2 separate regions of the Homo sapiens genome follow, and region 1 is linked to region 2. Evidence: promoter capture Hi-C in human tissues and cell types (Jung and others, 2019). All regions are on one chromosome and are shown on one strand. The core of a region is centred on a gene start or on the middle of the fragment in contact, and the rest is flanking DNA. Distances in the headings are between cores, read along the strand shown.

The links. Contacts are between HindIII fragments. The study calls those that stand out against the background at their distance.
Region 1: a contact is called between a fragment that was not itself captured here and the fragment with the promoter of FAM209B in region 2, in 1 of the 25 tissues and cell types used here (lymphoblastoid cells).

Annotation. Positions count from the first base shown.
Region 1 is chr20:57,068,155-57,075,042 of GRCh38, forward strand. No RefSeq gene overlaps it. Among named protein-coding and RNA genes, the nearest start is that of BMP7-AS1, 140 kb to the right of the region's middle. RefSeq lists an enhancer at 2,939-3,502. The HindIII fragment of the contact is 6,302 bases long and covers 1,197-6,888 here.
Region 2 is chr20:56,531,897-56,538,678 of GRCh38, forward strand. It overlaps FAM209B (family with sequence similarity 209 member B), which reads left to right and starts at 1,350. Exons shown (of 2, transcript NM_001013646.4): 1 at 1,350-1,694; 2 at 4,276-4,624. The coding sequence starts at 1,446. The coding sequence ends at 4,542. It also overlaps a transcript of FAM209A not described here. The HindIII fragment of the contact is 6,468 bases long and covers 1-1,913 here.

The DNA of each region.
Region 1 (6,888 bases), core at 3,098-5,597, 540 kb after region 2:
TGGGGAGACTCACTCTCTATCAAACCCTTTGGGTTCTTGGACCTCCTTTCTGGGATGCCAGAAGGTCAAGAAAGCCTGGATTTGATGGAAGGACAGAGAAAGGCTTTAAAGAGACTGATTAAGACAATCTACAAAATAAAGAGCTGAGAGAGAAAAGAGTGGGCAGAAAAGGTAAAATTTTCCTGCAGGATGGGGGAGGGAAATGGCACTGGAGATGAGGAAAGAAGACACTTAGGGAACATAAGTGTCAGACAATGGGAGAATAAGGAAAAGGGGATCTGAAAAAAGTGGCAGGAAGTCAAGCATTGGGGAACTTTGAGTGATCTAGGATTCTTTCGTTGCAAGCAACAGCAATCAGTCCTGGCTGACTTTAGAAAAAGGGAATTCACTGGAAGCATCACAGAACTGAGGGCAGGCTGCAGATGTGGGACTGAGAATGAGTAGGAGCAAGGCAGGCTGCAGGCTATGAGGCAGGTAGCAGAAACAGTCTGATCAAGGTGCAGTTTCTGCGATGGAATGAAACACCAACAATGTCAGCCTCTTTGTCCCTTTGCTTGAGACTCAGGTTCCAAAGTGGGCTATCTGACTGACTTGGTGTGGTTCATGTGCCTACTTCTGTCTGTCTTGTGTGGAGGGGAGGGGTGCTGTAAGCCCAGTGCCCTATCTGTAAATGGAGGAGGGCAAGCCCTTGAATCAAAACTGTCATGGTTATGAAGGGGAAATGGGGCCAGGCAACCAAACATGATGAATTTCCATTACGCTCTTTATGTTCTTTTGAAAGTAGCAAATGGAGGTGCTTTCAAACATCGTTCTGGCTGCAGAACTGTGCATCTTGCACACATCACTTCTCCAAGGTCTTGGTCATTGACCCTCATGGGTCACAGCTTCCTTAAGGTTACTTTATTATTAGAAATACATAAACTGGAGAGTCTTGTGATAGACAGGTGAATAAAATGTCATAGGAATGCAGAAGAGGCAACCTGAGGAAGCCGGGGAAGGCTTCACTGAGGAGGTGACTTTTGGGCATGCTTATAGAAGTTTACAGGGCTAAGCAGCTGATAGGTAGTAGGTGGTAATAAATGCATCTCAATACTTATTTGAGATAAATCAATCTTAAGCAAAGCATGTAGGATTGAAGCCAATCCCCTTCTTCCTAGGAATCTGGGACAAGACTGTCTTGTAACTTGTAGCTTCACCTAACCCAGATACTTCTGGTTATAACTGCAGGCTTTTATGGACAATTTCACTTTTTCTTTTAAATAACTTTCATCAAGACCAATGACACTATTTGACATTAAGTCAAATCGTGCAGAGAAAAACTGGGGCAAAAGTCTTATTTTGTAATTTGTCAGAATGGGTTCTGAAAAGCTGTGCTTGCTCCCAAGGGTTTCCTGCAGGCGAAAAGGAAACTTCCCTAAGACAGAAGAGGGAATCCACCATTTGGCCCCGGATGGATGGTCTCAGCCACAGGACAGGAACAAGGACAGGAATCTGCTCACAGGTCCCCGCCCAGCTGCTCTCTGACCGGCCACAGTATTCAGGCCAAGACACTCAGCTGTGACTGCGAATGCTACTTGTCTGACCTAAGGATCTAAGGACTGTAGCTGCCTTGTTTGCATTTCTTACTCCAACGATAACTCAAAGAAAAGAAAATGAATCACCGTGGAAAATGAGGGGAGGGTGCAAAAGTAGTGCCGCAGAGCCTCAGAATCCTCCCACCTGCCCTCCACCTGCATCTCCACCAGCCCATTCTCACCCTTCCCCACATCGCAGGAGAGGAACCGCCCAGTTTCCGGGAAGACAGGGTCACTTGGTTTAGCTGGAGTGGTCCCACTCTTCCTAAGTACCTGGTCTTCACAGTAGCTGCTGTGGCAGGGAAGGACGCAATCCCAGGACTAGACTCTTATCTTCTCCTTTTGCCCAGGCCCCACCAGCTTCCACACTGAACAACACGGGGCCTGTGGATCCATCCTCATCCCCTCCCTAAGCTACTGACCCACTCCCCTCCCCCTCCTGGCATTGATGGGCTGTCCTCAGGGAAGCCAGTGACCCTAGTCCAGGGCCTCAGACCAGGGTCAAGGGGCAGAATGTCTACACCAGGCCAGGGATCCCTGCAGACTGGTCTTCGGGAAGTGCACCCCCAGATGCAATCAGTTCACAGAGGAAAACCACATTTTGTTTAGTCTTTTCCTAGTCTAGAAGGCCTAGTATTTAATAAACCCTGGAGCCAGCCCTGAGGGGGACTGGCTTTTATGGGCTCCAGGCAGCTCTCTCAGCCTCTTCCCAGGTGGGGGGGCTTGGCCTGTTGGCAGCTGACTTGAGTTTTCTTCCCAGCCCCACCTCGCCCAATGCCCCCACCTTTTCCATGAGATGAAGAGAAACTTGGCCTCCAAGGGTCACTCTTCTCCCCAGGAATGTGTGGCCCAGCTTCTCCAGTTTAAAAGACTTTCCTCTGCTCCAGGGCTGACCCCAAACAGATGGGAACCTCTAGAGCTTGGTTGGCCAATGCCATGTTCAGCCCAGTCACAGCTGAGATCTTGTCACCTAGGTGAGTGCTTTACTGCTGGAGAAGTAGCAATCAAGAGAACAGTTCTTTTTAACATGGACATGAGAGATTTTAGGGACCAGTCCCCAGTGCTCAAATCATAGCAGGTCCCACCCAAGAACTTGGCTCATCCACAAACCAAGCTCCTGCCAAGCCCTGGCTTATGGAGATGGACCAGACATTCCTGGGGCATCATGGCAGGCGGCCACTGATGCTGTCTCAAATCCTGGGGTTCCATATTACGGAGAGAATCAGCTGCAAAAGGCAACAATTGTCTTTGAGTCACCCCTGCCCTTCCAAAAATCAGGCTTTCAAGAGTTGAAGGCGTGAAGCGTAATGCAGGGAATTTCTGACAGTGCAGAGGGTATCTGACAGGCTGGGATGTTCCAGCGATGACTGAACACGCAGATTGAATGGAACACTGATTACATTCTTGGTTAGCCGCCTATATAGCCCATACTGGGTCCTCATTACATGTGCCCTAACAACAAACATTATGTTTCATTAAAATATTACACACTTAGGAAAATACTTCTAAAAATGCAAAGAGGAGAATAAAAACTACCGCAAGTGCTATACTGAGACCCAGCGCTGTGGCAAGTTCCCCTGACCTGTCTGCAGGGATCATTACAAGCCGATACTGGCTGCCCAGCGGGACCTGATGAGACATCAGAGAGCTCACGTGACCTCCATTATCACTGTCACCGCCGTGCGTGCTGTTCACACAAACATCGGAGATGTAAGTGACACTTTACAACAATTCCTGAGCCTTCCATCATGTGGCTCAGAATGTCATGGCCCAGATGATGTCGGGGGGTATTAAAACAAATAAATGAACCATCGAACAAGTAAATAAATAAATACACAAAGGAAAGCGGGGAGAGAGAGGGAAGGAACCGGTTAGGGCACTCACACAGTGCAGAGGAGTCTGAAAAGGAATGCTGCCTGCTGGCGCCCTGGCTCTCTGTCTCTCTCCCTGTCTTTCTGTCTCTGTGTGTGTTTTTCCTCACTCTCTGTCTCTCTCGCCATCTAGCTGTCTCTCCTCTCTCGGCCCTTTCTCATCATAAACCCCCTTACATGTGATCTCCTTTAATCCTCACAACAGCCTGATGTAGTCACTGGCTTTCCTCCTATTTTACAGCTGAGAAAACTGGAGCTCTGAGAGATGGACTACCTTGCTCCAAGACACACAGGTGAATCCTAGTGGAGCTGGAGTCAGCCCCAGATAGCTCTATGCCCACCCTCCACCTCCCCCTCCAGCCTGTGTGTGCACGTATGTGCGGGTGTGTTGATGGGAATATACCCTAAGTCAGATTGCAACTTGCAATCTACAGCTCACGGACCAGAAACCTTAGCATTTCCTGGGAGCTCTGTAGAAATGCGGTGTCCCAGACCCCTCCCCAGACCTCCCAAGTCAGAAACTGCATTTTCACAGGATCCCTTGGGAACTCCTGGGCATGTGACAGGCTAAGAAACACCTCTCTACATCTCTCTACAGCCCTTCTCCCACTGCCAGGCAGGACTGAGTTACTGCTTTCCTGAGAGGAGGGAACTACATCACTCCCCAAAAGGAAACTGGAGACCACGCTAGGCGAGCACAGCTTTCCTGAATGCCAGCATACCAGGGCTGGAGGTGCAGGTTTGGTGCTGCCTCCGTCACCCTAAGCCCTCAACATCTCCATCCCCTGGTCTCTTGGTAAACAGCTAAGCCAAGATGGCCAGAGCTGGGAGGATGATTGGGCTGAGTCATGTCACTGTAGCCCACAGACAAGTCTGCAACCCATTAAAGACTTCTCTTCTCCATTAATTTCAGAGACAAAGAGACGTTTGAAGTTTAATGTCATTCTCTTGCTCAGCCTTCCTCAATGAGGCCCCCAGAAGGGTGAGTGAGGGGCTCTCGGAAGGAGTGGGGCTACTGCAGGGCTGGCTCCAGCCGCAGTGTGGGAGTACCCAGGTCTTTGCTTGGAACAAACACCTATTTGACAGACAGCAGTTGGGTCCTGGGTAGAACCATTGAGACCAGCTACCATTCCTGGTTCTGAAATTTAATAATGAAATAAATGTAATCACACATATTTAATTAAGCCATTTCTTAATAATCATTATCATAGCATGGCACACTCCCCACACGCCTGGCATAGCAAGGCACTATCATACGCATAGAAGCATAGACCTTTGCTGAGAGCGTCACTCCGTACCAACCCCAGACTCAGTAGCGGTGAGAACTTGCCCAAGTCAAAAGCTTCCCTGCGGCTCATTTCCTCCTCTGTAGAACGGGGGACTGAAAACAAGGAACAGGCATCGGGACAGCGGATCATGAAACTGGTGCCCCATGCAGTGGGTACTCTAAAATACGAAGGAGCAGGTTTCGGGTGCAGCAGCAGCAAGGATAGAGCTGAAACACAGATGCCTAAGGGAAGGACGCCAGACCTGGAAGAGGACAAACGGGGTGATCTTGCTTACATAAAGCTCGAAAACAGGCCAGAAGGCCAGAACCAATCTGCAGCCAGAAAGCAGCACCACGGCCACCCAGGGCAGAAGGAGGTGGGGTCTTCCTGGGGTGAGGGGGGCCGTGTTCCACGTCTTGTTCTGAGTGTGGAAGGGTGTACATGTTTGCCACAATGTATCAAATGCCACCCTTAAACTCTGTGCATGTTATTGTATATAATACTTCAATAACATTATTTTAAAAGTGTTGACCAATAGTTCAAATACAGTTTGTTGCCAAGACAAGTTTTTAAAAAACCATGAAATCTGAGTATAATACGATTTTAAAACAGAATTATACATACTGTTTGTAGCCAACACTTTTTTTAAAAAACATGTAATCTGAGCATAATAAGATTTTAAAGCAGAATTACACAGCGTTTTACATAAGTTAACATATTTATGGCACTTGGCACAGTGCCCGGCACACAGGAGGAAAATGCTGGAAACTGTCATTTCATCATCCGGATCACCTTGGGTTGGTGCCCTTATACCTGTTTCACAGATGAAGAAACTGAGGCACGGATAGGGTAACTTACATTAGTTTCCCAGGGCTGCCGTAACAAATTGCGGTTGTGGTTTAAAACAACAGAAACTTGTTCTCTCGCATTTTTGGAGGCTAGAAGCCCCAAATCAAGGTGCCCGCAGGCCAGGCTCTTCCACAGGCTCTAGAGGAGGACGCTTTCTGGCCGCTTCCAGCTTCCAGTGGCTGCTGGTCATCCTTGGTGTTCCTTGGCTTTTGGACATATCCTTCCAACCTCTGTGTCCTGTGTCACGTGGCCTTCTTCCCTCTGTGTGTCTGTGTCCTTTCTTTTAAGGACACCAGTCACTGGATTTAGCACTTACTCGATCCAGTATGACCCTATACTAACTAGTTACATCTGCAAAGACCCCATTTCCCAATAAGGTCCCATTCACAGGGATCAGGACTTGAGGATGTCTTTTCGGGGGACACGATCCAACCCAAGCACTTACCCAAGACAGCACAGAGATTAAATGGGAGGATGGAGATCCGAGGAGATCCAAGCCCAGCTCTGCCTGATTCCGGAGCTCCCCTGTGGTCCAGGACCCTTTACCTTGCTGTGCTCACCTGGCTGAGAGGCCTCTGCAACTGGCCAGGCCCTCAGGAACTGAATTCTGTCCCGGCCTCGGGTGCTCAGCCGAGCAGTGGAAACTGGGAGAGTAACCGAGGGCAACATGAGCATGCTTCAGTGTTTAGCGCGGATGGCTCCAGGGAGGTGCCAGGCGCTGTCTGGGAACGGGGCAGGGGTCAGGGCAGATGTCACCCAAAAGGACACTAGCTCTGAGGTGGAAGGACAAGGTGGGTTGTGTGGGGCCCAGAAGAGGGCATTCCACTTTGCATAAGCAAAGTCCTGAAGGGGACACTGGTGGCCTGGCCTGGTGGGTGCCGGTTAGGAGGGATCCAAAGCTGAATGGTGAGCAGGCAGCCTCCCGCCAGTGCATACACCCCTCCCTCCACAGCCTACGCTGAGGCGTTTGCTTTGAAATTGTTGCCAGTGAACGTGAGTGGCTGGAAGGTGGGTGTTGGCGTTGGGCGTTGGCATTGGGGATGCCTCGCTCCATCCTGGACATGTCAACATCTCTTCAAGACTCCCCTGCAACGTGGGGATGGTGATCTTCACTTAGCCAACCTCAGAGGGGATTTCAAGGCTCTGAGAGGGACTCTGGCAGCATCTAGGCTTAGAGAAGACAGGAATATGTAAACAGTGGCTATGCAGAAGAGACCTGGGGACGGGACCTTATTTGGAAACAGGGTCTTTGCAGATATAATCAAGGTAAGATGAAGTCATAGTGAAATAGGTTGGGCCCAAATCCAGTATGACTGGTGTCCTTGG
Region 2 (6,782 bases), core at 100-2,599:
GGGATTACAGGTGTGAGCCCCTGCCCCTGTGCCTGGCCCAATGTATACTCTTTTTTTCTTTTCTTTTCTTTTCTTTTCTTTTTTTTTTTTTTTTTTGAGACTGAGCCCTGCTCTGTTGCCCAGACTGGAGTGCAGTGGCGCCATCTAAGCTCACTGTAACCTCTACTTCCTGGGTTCAAGTGATTCTCCCGTCTCAGCCTCCCAAGTAGCTGGGATTACAGGCACATGCCACCATGCCTGGCTAATTTGTGTATTTTTAGTAGAGATAGGGTTTCACCATGTTGGCCAGGCTGGTCTCAAACTTCTGACCTTGGGTGATCTGCCTACCTTGGCCTCCCAAAGTGCTGGGATTACAAGTGTGAGCCACCAGGCCTGGCTCCAAAGTATACTCTTAACCCAAGGCAGGCACACACTGCTGCTGTCAATGATGGTATGTGGTAATAGGGAGTGGTGGGGACTGTGGAGGGAATATGGCCACAGGATGGATGATTTCACTTGGCTCTAGCAGAAGACTGGTTCTATGACAGTGTGGGCCCAGTGCTTCCAGAACTCTTCATATTTTCTTTTCTTTCTTTTTCTTTTTCTTTTTTTTTTTTTTTTTTTTTTGAGACAGAGTCTTGCTCTGTTGCCAGGCTGGAGTGCAGTGGCGTGATCTCGGCTCATCACAACCTCTGCCTCCTGGGTTCAAGTGATTCTCCTGTCTCAGCCTCCCAAGTAGCTGAGACTACAGGCGTGTGCCACCACATCCAGCTAATTTTTGTATTTTTAGTAAAGACGGGGTTTCACCACGTTGGACAGGATGGTCTCGATCTCTTGACCTCGTAATCTGCCCGCCTCAGCCTCCCAAAGTGCTGGGATTACAGGCGTGAGCTGCCGCGCCCGGCCACGCTCTCATATTTTCAAAGGAAGCCGGAAACCTGGACTTTTAAAGTGAAATACCCACCCCCCACAACATTTAAGTACTGACTAATAATTTTTAGAAACAACATAGGCCAAACAAAACACATAGGTGGCTCCGAGTTTGTAGGTAGCCTGTGGTTTAATATCTTTCTCTCCCATTTAACTCAGCTCCACGGGGCACATGGCATCTCCCTCTGCTCATCATAGTGTTTGGATCAAACAAATGAAAAACAGAAACATGACGGCCTCTACCAGCAAAAGCTCGAGGGTTGGAAAGAGTCCCCTGGCAGGGAATTGGCACCCCGTCGTGCCTATCCTCTCTCTCTGACTGCCTGCTGGAAATGCCCCCATCTCCCTTTGAGTCCTCCTCCCGGGCGACTCCTGTGACCTGTAACCTCTGTCCTGAAATCATCACAATGGCCAGGGTGGCCTCAGCTCAGGGCCTCTGTGACATCACCAAGGGCCTGGCACCAGGTGCCCAGTCTTCCAGTTGCGAGGGCAAGCAAACCCGTCATGAGCAACTCCCTTCCCCATCTCTGCTCACCATGTGGACGCTGAAATCGTCCCTGGTCCTGCTTCTGTGCCTCACCTGCAGCTATGCCTTTATGTTCTCTTCTCTGAGACAGAAAACTAGCGAACCCCAGGGGAAGGTGCCGTGTGGAGAGCACTTTCGGATTCGGCAGAACCTACCAGAGCACACCCAAGGCTGGCTTGGGAGCAAATGGCTCTGGCTTTTGTTTGCTGTTGTGCCGTTTGTGATACTGCAGTGTCAAAGAGACAGTGAGAAGAATAAGGTAAGGATGGCTCCATTTTTTTTACACCATATTGATTCAATCTCAGGAGTCTCAGGGAAACGGATGTTCTAGTGAGTCTAGGCGGCACCGTTGGGTATAATGAACCGACCTCATGGTCCTGGGCAAAGCTGGCAAATTCACTTCCTGATGTATCCTTAGTGAAGACAATAGTCCCCACATCCACAGATATTGGGACAAACAGTGGAAGATGACCTCTAGTTTCTTGGCTCAAAGTTCTTCTGGTTAGATGGATTTTTTCAAATGTAGGATAGATTCAAGAACTCAGCCGGGCGCAGTGGTTCATGCTGTAATCCCATCACTTTGGGAGGCCAGGGCAGGTGGATTGCCTGAGGTCGGGAGTTTGAGAACAGCCTGGCCAACACGGTGAAACCCCATCTCTACTAAAAATACAAAAATTAGCTGGGCATGGCGGCGTGTGTCTGTAATCCCAGCTACTCGGGAGGCTGAGGCAGAAGAATGGCTTGAACCCTGGAGGCAGAGGTTGTGGTGAGCTGAGATCACACTACTGCACTCCTGCATGGGCGACTGAGACTCTGTCTCAAAATAAAGAACTTATGGTGTGTTTTAGAAGGTCAAAATTATATTATTCACAGGGCCAAATTCACTGTTCCCTTGCTTTTTACATTTTTCCTAGTGCTTGACTTACTGAAAATTCCTGAGCTAAATGGAAATGATATCATCCCAACAAAATATGAAACTTCTGTAAGGAGATAAAGGTGTAGGCCGGGCACAGTGGCTCATGCCTGTAATCCCAGAACTTTGGGAGGCCGAGACGGGCAGATCACTTGAGGTCAGGAGATTGAGACCAGCCTGGCCAACATGGTGAAACCTCGTCTTTACTAAAAATACAGAAATTAGGCCAGGCGCGGTGGCTCACCCCTGTAATCCTAGCACTTTGGGAGGCTGAGGCGGGTGAATCACGAGGTCAGGAGTTCGAGACCAGCTGGGCAACATGGTGAAACCCTGTCTCTACTAAAAATACAAAACCTAGCTGGGCGTAGTGGCGGGCGCCTGTAATCCCAGCTACTCGGGAGGCTGAGGCAGGAGAATCACTTGAACCCTGGAGGCAGAGGTGGTAGTGAGCCGAGATGGAGCCACTGCACTCCAGCCCAGGTGACAGAGTGAGACTCTGTCTCAAAAAAAAAAAAAAAAAAAAAAAAAGCTGGGCCCAGTGGCTCATGCCTGTAATCCCAGCACTTTGGGAGGCCGAGGCGGACGGATCATCTGAGGTCAGGAAGTTGAGACCAGCCTGACCAACATGGAGAAAGCCCGTCTCTACTAAAAATACAAAATTAGGCGTAGTGGCGCATGCCTGTAATCCCAGCTACTCGGGAGGCTGAGGCAGGAGAATCGCTTGAACCCGGGAGGTGGAGGTTGCAGTGAGCCGAAACTGCGCCATTGCCCTCCAGCCTGGGCAACAAGAGCAAAACTCTGTCTCAAAAAAAAAAAAAAATACAGAAATTAGCCAGGTGTGGTGGCACACCCCTGTAATCCCAGCTACTCGGGAGACTGAGGCAGGAGAATCACTTGAACCTGGGAGGCAGAGGTTGCAGTGAGCTGAGATCGTGCCACTGCACGCCAGCCTGGGCGACAAAGTGAGACTCTGTCTCAAAAAAAAAAAAAATTAGCTGGTATGGTGGTGGGCACCTGTGGTCCCAGCTACTTGGGAGGCTGAGGCATAAGAGTTGCTTGAACCCCGGCCGGGGGTGGTGGCTCATGCCTGTAATCCCAGCAATTTGGGAAGCCGAGGCGGGTGGATCACCTGAGGTCAGGAGTTCGAGACCAGCCTGGCCAACATGATAAAACCCTGTCTCTACAAAAATACAAAAATTAGCCGGGCATGATGGCGGGTGCCTGTAATCCCAGCTACTCGGGAGGCTGAGGCAGGAGAATAGCTGGAACCTGGGAGGCAGAGGTTGCAGTGAACCGAGATCATGCCACTGCACTCCAGCCTGGGTGACAGGGCAAGATTCCGTCTCACAAAAAAAAAGAATTGCTTGAACCCAGGAAGTGGAGGTTGCGGTGAGCCAAGATCACACCAGCCTGGGTGACAGAGTGAAACTGTGTCTCAAAAAAACAAACAAAAAAAAGAGATGAAGGTGTAAAGTAGTAACAGCTGGGCCTCAAAGTGACCATAAACAATTCTTTCAAGTAGAAGGAGAAAGGGAAAGAAAGCGTATTCTCCCCTAGAAAGACCCAGCATTTCATGATCCTGTGCCCAAACTGATTAGAGGAAGGATTGGCAAACTTTTTCTGTAAAGGGCCAGAGAGTGAATATTTACAGCTTTGTGGGCAGTACGGTCTTCCTTGCAACTACTCAAATCTGCTGTTGTAACATGAAGCAGCCTTAAACAATATAGAAATGAGTGAGCATGACTGTGTGCCAATAAAACTTTATTTACAAAAACAGGTGGAGGGCCAAATTTGGCCATAGTCTGCCAGTGCCTGCACTCGAGCACTGCTAGAACCATCTTTTCTTAAATGAGCCCAACTGTCTTGGAACTGTGTCAAAACCAGCAAAGTCCATGATATTATTGACCTTGAATATCTTTCTTGACAGGAGCAGAGTCCTCCTGGCCTTCGAGGCTTCCCATTTCGCACTCCACTAAAGAAAAATCAAAATGCTTCTCTTTACAAAGACTGTGTATTCAATACCTTAAACGAACTTGAAGTGGAGCTTTTGAAATTTGTGTCCGAAGTGCAGAATCTTAAAGGTGCCATGGCAACAGGCAGTGGCAGTAACCTCAAGCTTCGAAGGTCAGAGATGCCTGCAGATCCATACCATGTCACAATCTGTAAAATATGGGGAGAAGAAAGCTCTAGCTGAATGGATTTGTGTGTCAGGAGAGAAAAAAGTTGAGTGTTGACAAACTGTATGCAAACTAATAAAACTATTCTGAAGAAAAGAACTTCCATGTTTGAGAGCTTGCTTCTTTTCTTTTTTTTCACTAGAAGAAAAAGTGAATGGGAGACCAGTAGCCATAGCAGTGATGGTTTTGTTTTTGCCTCTCTCATGTCATCTAGAGCTGTGGATGGTGAGGAGAGCACCGAAAGCTACATAATAGTACGTGATGAGCTCGTGCTTCCGTGCAATGGCCGCGGGTGGACGATGGAGCTAGGGAAATCTGGGATAAGATGCTGACGTCACTTCCATACAAACTCTCGCTCTCTGTAGTATCTACTTGTGCAAGATACAGAACTGCTTTTTATCTTTGATTTATTACAAAAGACGGCGTTAATGATAGTTTTAAAATGGTAAAATGATTCAATTAGGAGGGGTGTATTCTAGAGTTATCTGATTCTCTCACCACAAGAGTCCTTTCACTCATTCCATGTCAAAGGTTCCATGCATTGACTTTTCCTTCTACCAAACTGGCAGTTACATTTGTCAGTAGTTGGATTAAGAAAAAGGGAGAGGCCAGGCATGGTGGCTCACATCCGTAATCTTAGCACTTTGGGAGGCCAAGGCGGGAGGATTGCTTGAGTCCAGGAGTTTGAAGCCACCCTGGGCAACATAGTGAGATTCCTTCTCTATTATTTTTAAATTAGAAAAAAAAAAAAGGGAAAAACAATTCATCCTTTCTATATCATTGGGGTTTTGGATACAGATGTGCTAACCAGGGGCTCCCCAATCAGTTGATATGTACTTTATCATACTTATTTAAAATGTGGATATTTTACATGTTAGTGTGGCTGACTCTGCACACACTTAGGGCTGTAAGTCTCCTACTGACCCCTGAGCCGACCTTCCCTCATTTAAAAGGCCAACCTGTGGCCGGGTGTGGTGGCTGAAGCCTGTAATCCCAGCATTTTGGGAGGCTGAGGGGGCAGATCATGAGATCAAGAGATCGAGACCATCCTGGCCAATGTGGTGAAACCTCGTCTTTACTAAAAATACAAAAATTAGCTGGGCGTGGTGGCAGGCGCCTGTAGTCTCAGCTGTTTGGGAGACTGAGGCAGGAGAATTGCTTGAACCCAGGAGGCGGAGGTTGCGGTAAGCCGAGATCATGCCACTGCACTCCAGCCTGGCGACAGAGCAAGACTCCATCTCAAAAATAAATAAATAAATAAATAAAAGGCCACACACACTTGTGCGTGGCTGGAGAGAACAGTTAGCTGTGGGACACCATGGAAATTCCTTTATTTCACTTCAGTCCAAACTTCTGGTGCCTGACAGAGAAGTCCTGAATCTCTGCCACCTTCCTTTATTTGTCCGCTCCCATTATTTGCACAAGGCTTTCAGGATCCTCCCTGAACATGTGATTTTCTCCATGTGTAGGAGGTGGACCTCTTGTAAAATGTCCTTGAACATTTTGCTTTTTGTCTTAACTCTCAGCTTTCAATATGGGGGAAATGGAAGGAGCCAAGATTACTCCTTTTGCCTTCCAGATTATTTATGAGTGTTTTCAAGCAAACCAGAGTATGTGAGTTATTGTCACAGCCCACTCTGAAGAAATCCAGATAAGAAAAAAATTGGTTTTAACCAGTAATCTCAAGATGGGGCAGGTTTTAGATTGTCTTCATTTAACCAGTAGCTATTAGATCTGCGGTCAGCAAGCTACAGCTCACAGGCCAATTTGGCCGCCTGCCTATATTTGTACAGCCTTGTGAACTAATAATGATTTTTATATTTTTTCGTGGTTAAAAATATCAGGCAGGGTGTGGTGGTGTGCACCTGTAGTACCAGCTACTCTGGAGGATGAGGCAGGAGGATTGCTTGAGCCCAGGAGTCTGAGTTCAGCCTGAGCAACATAGTGAGAACCTGTTGCTATATATATATATATATGGCAACATATATATATATGGCAACATATATATATATAATATATATATTTGAAGACATGAAACTCACATAAAATCCAAATTTTAGCACCCATGAAGTTTTATTGGAACACAGCCACATTCTTTAATTTACATATTATCTATGGCTGCTTTTGTGCCACAGAATTTCCACGTTGTCTATGGGTCTAGATTTTGTGCTTACAGTGGCACGCTTGAATTATTGCAACAGAAAACAATATAGCCCAGAAATATTTACTAACTGGCCCTTTACAGGACAAGCTTGCC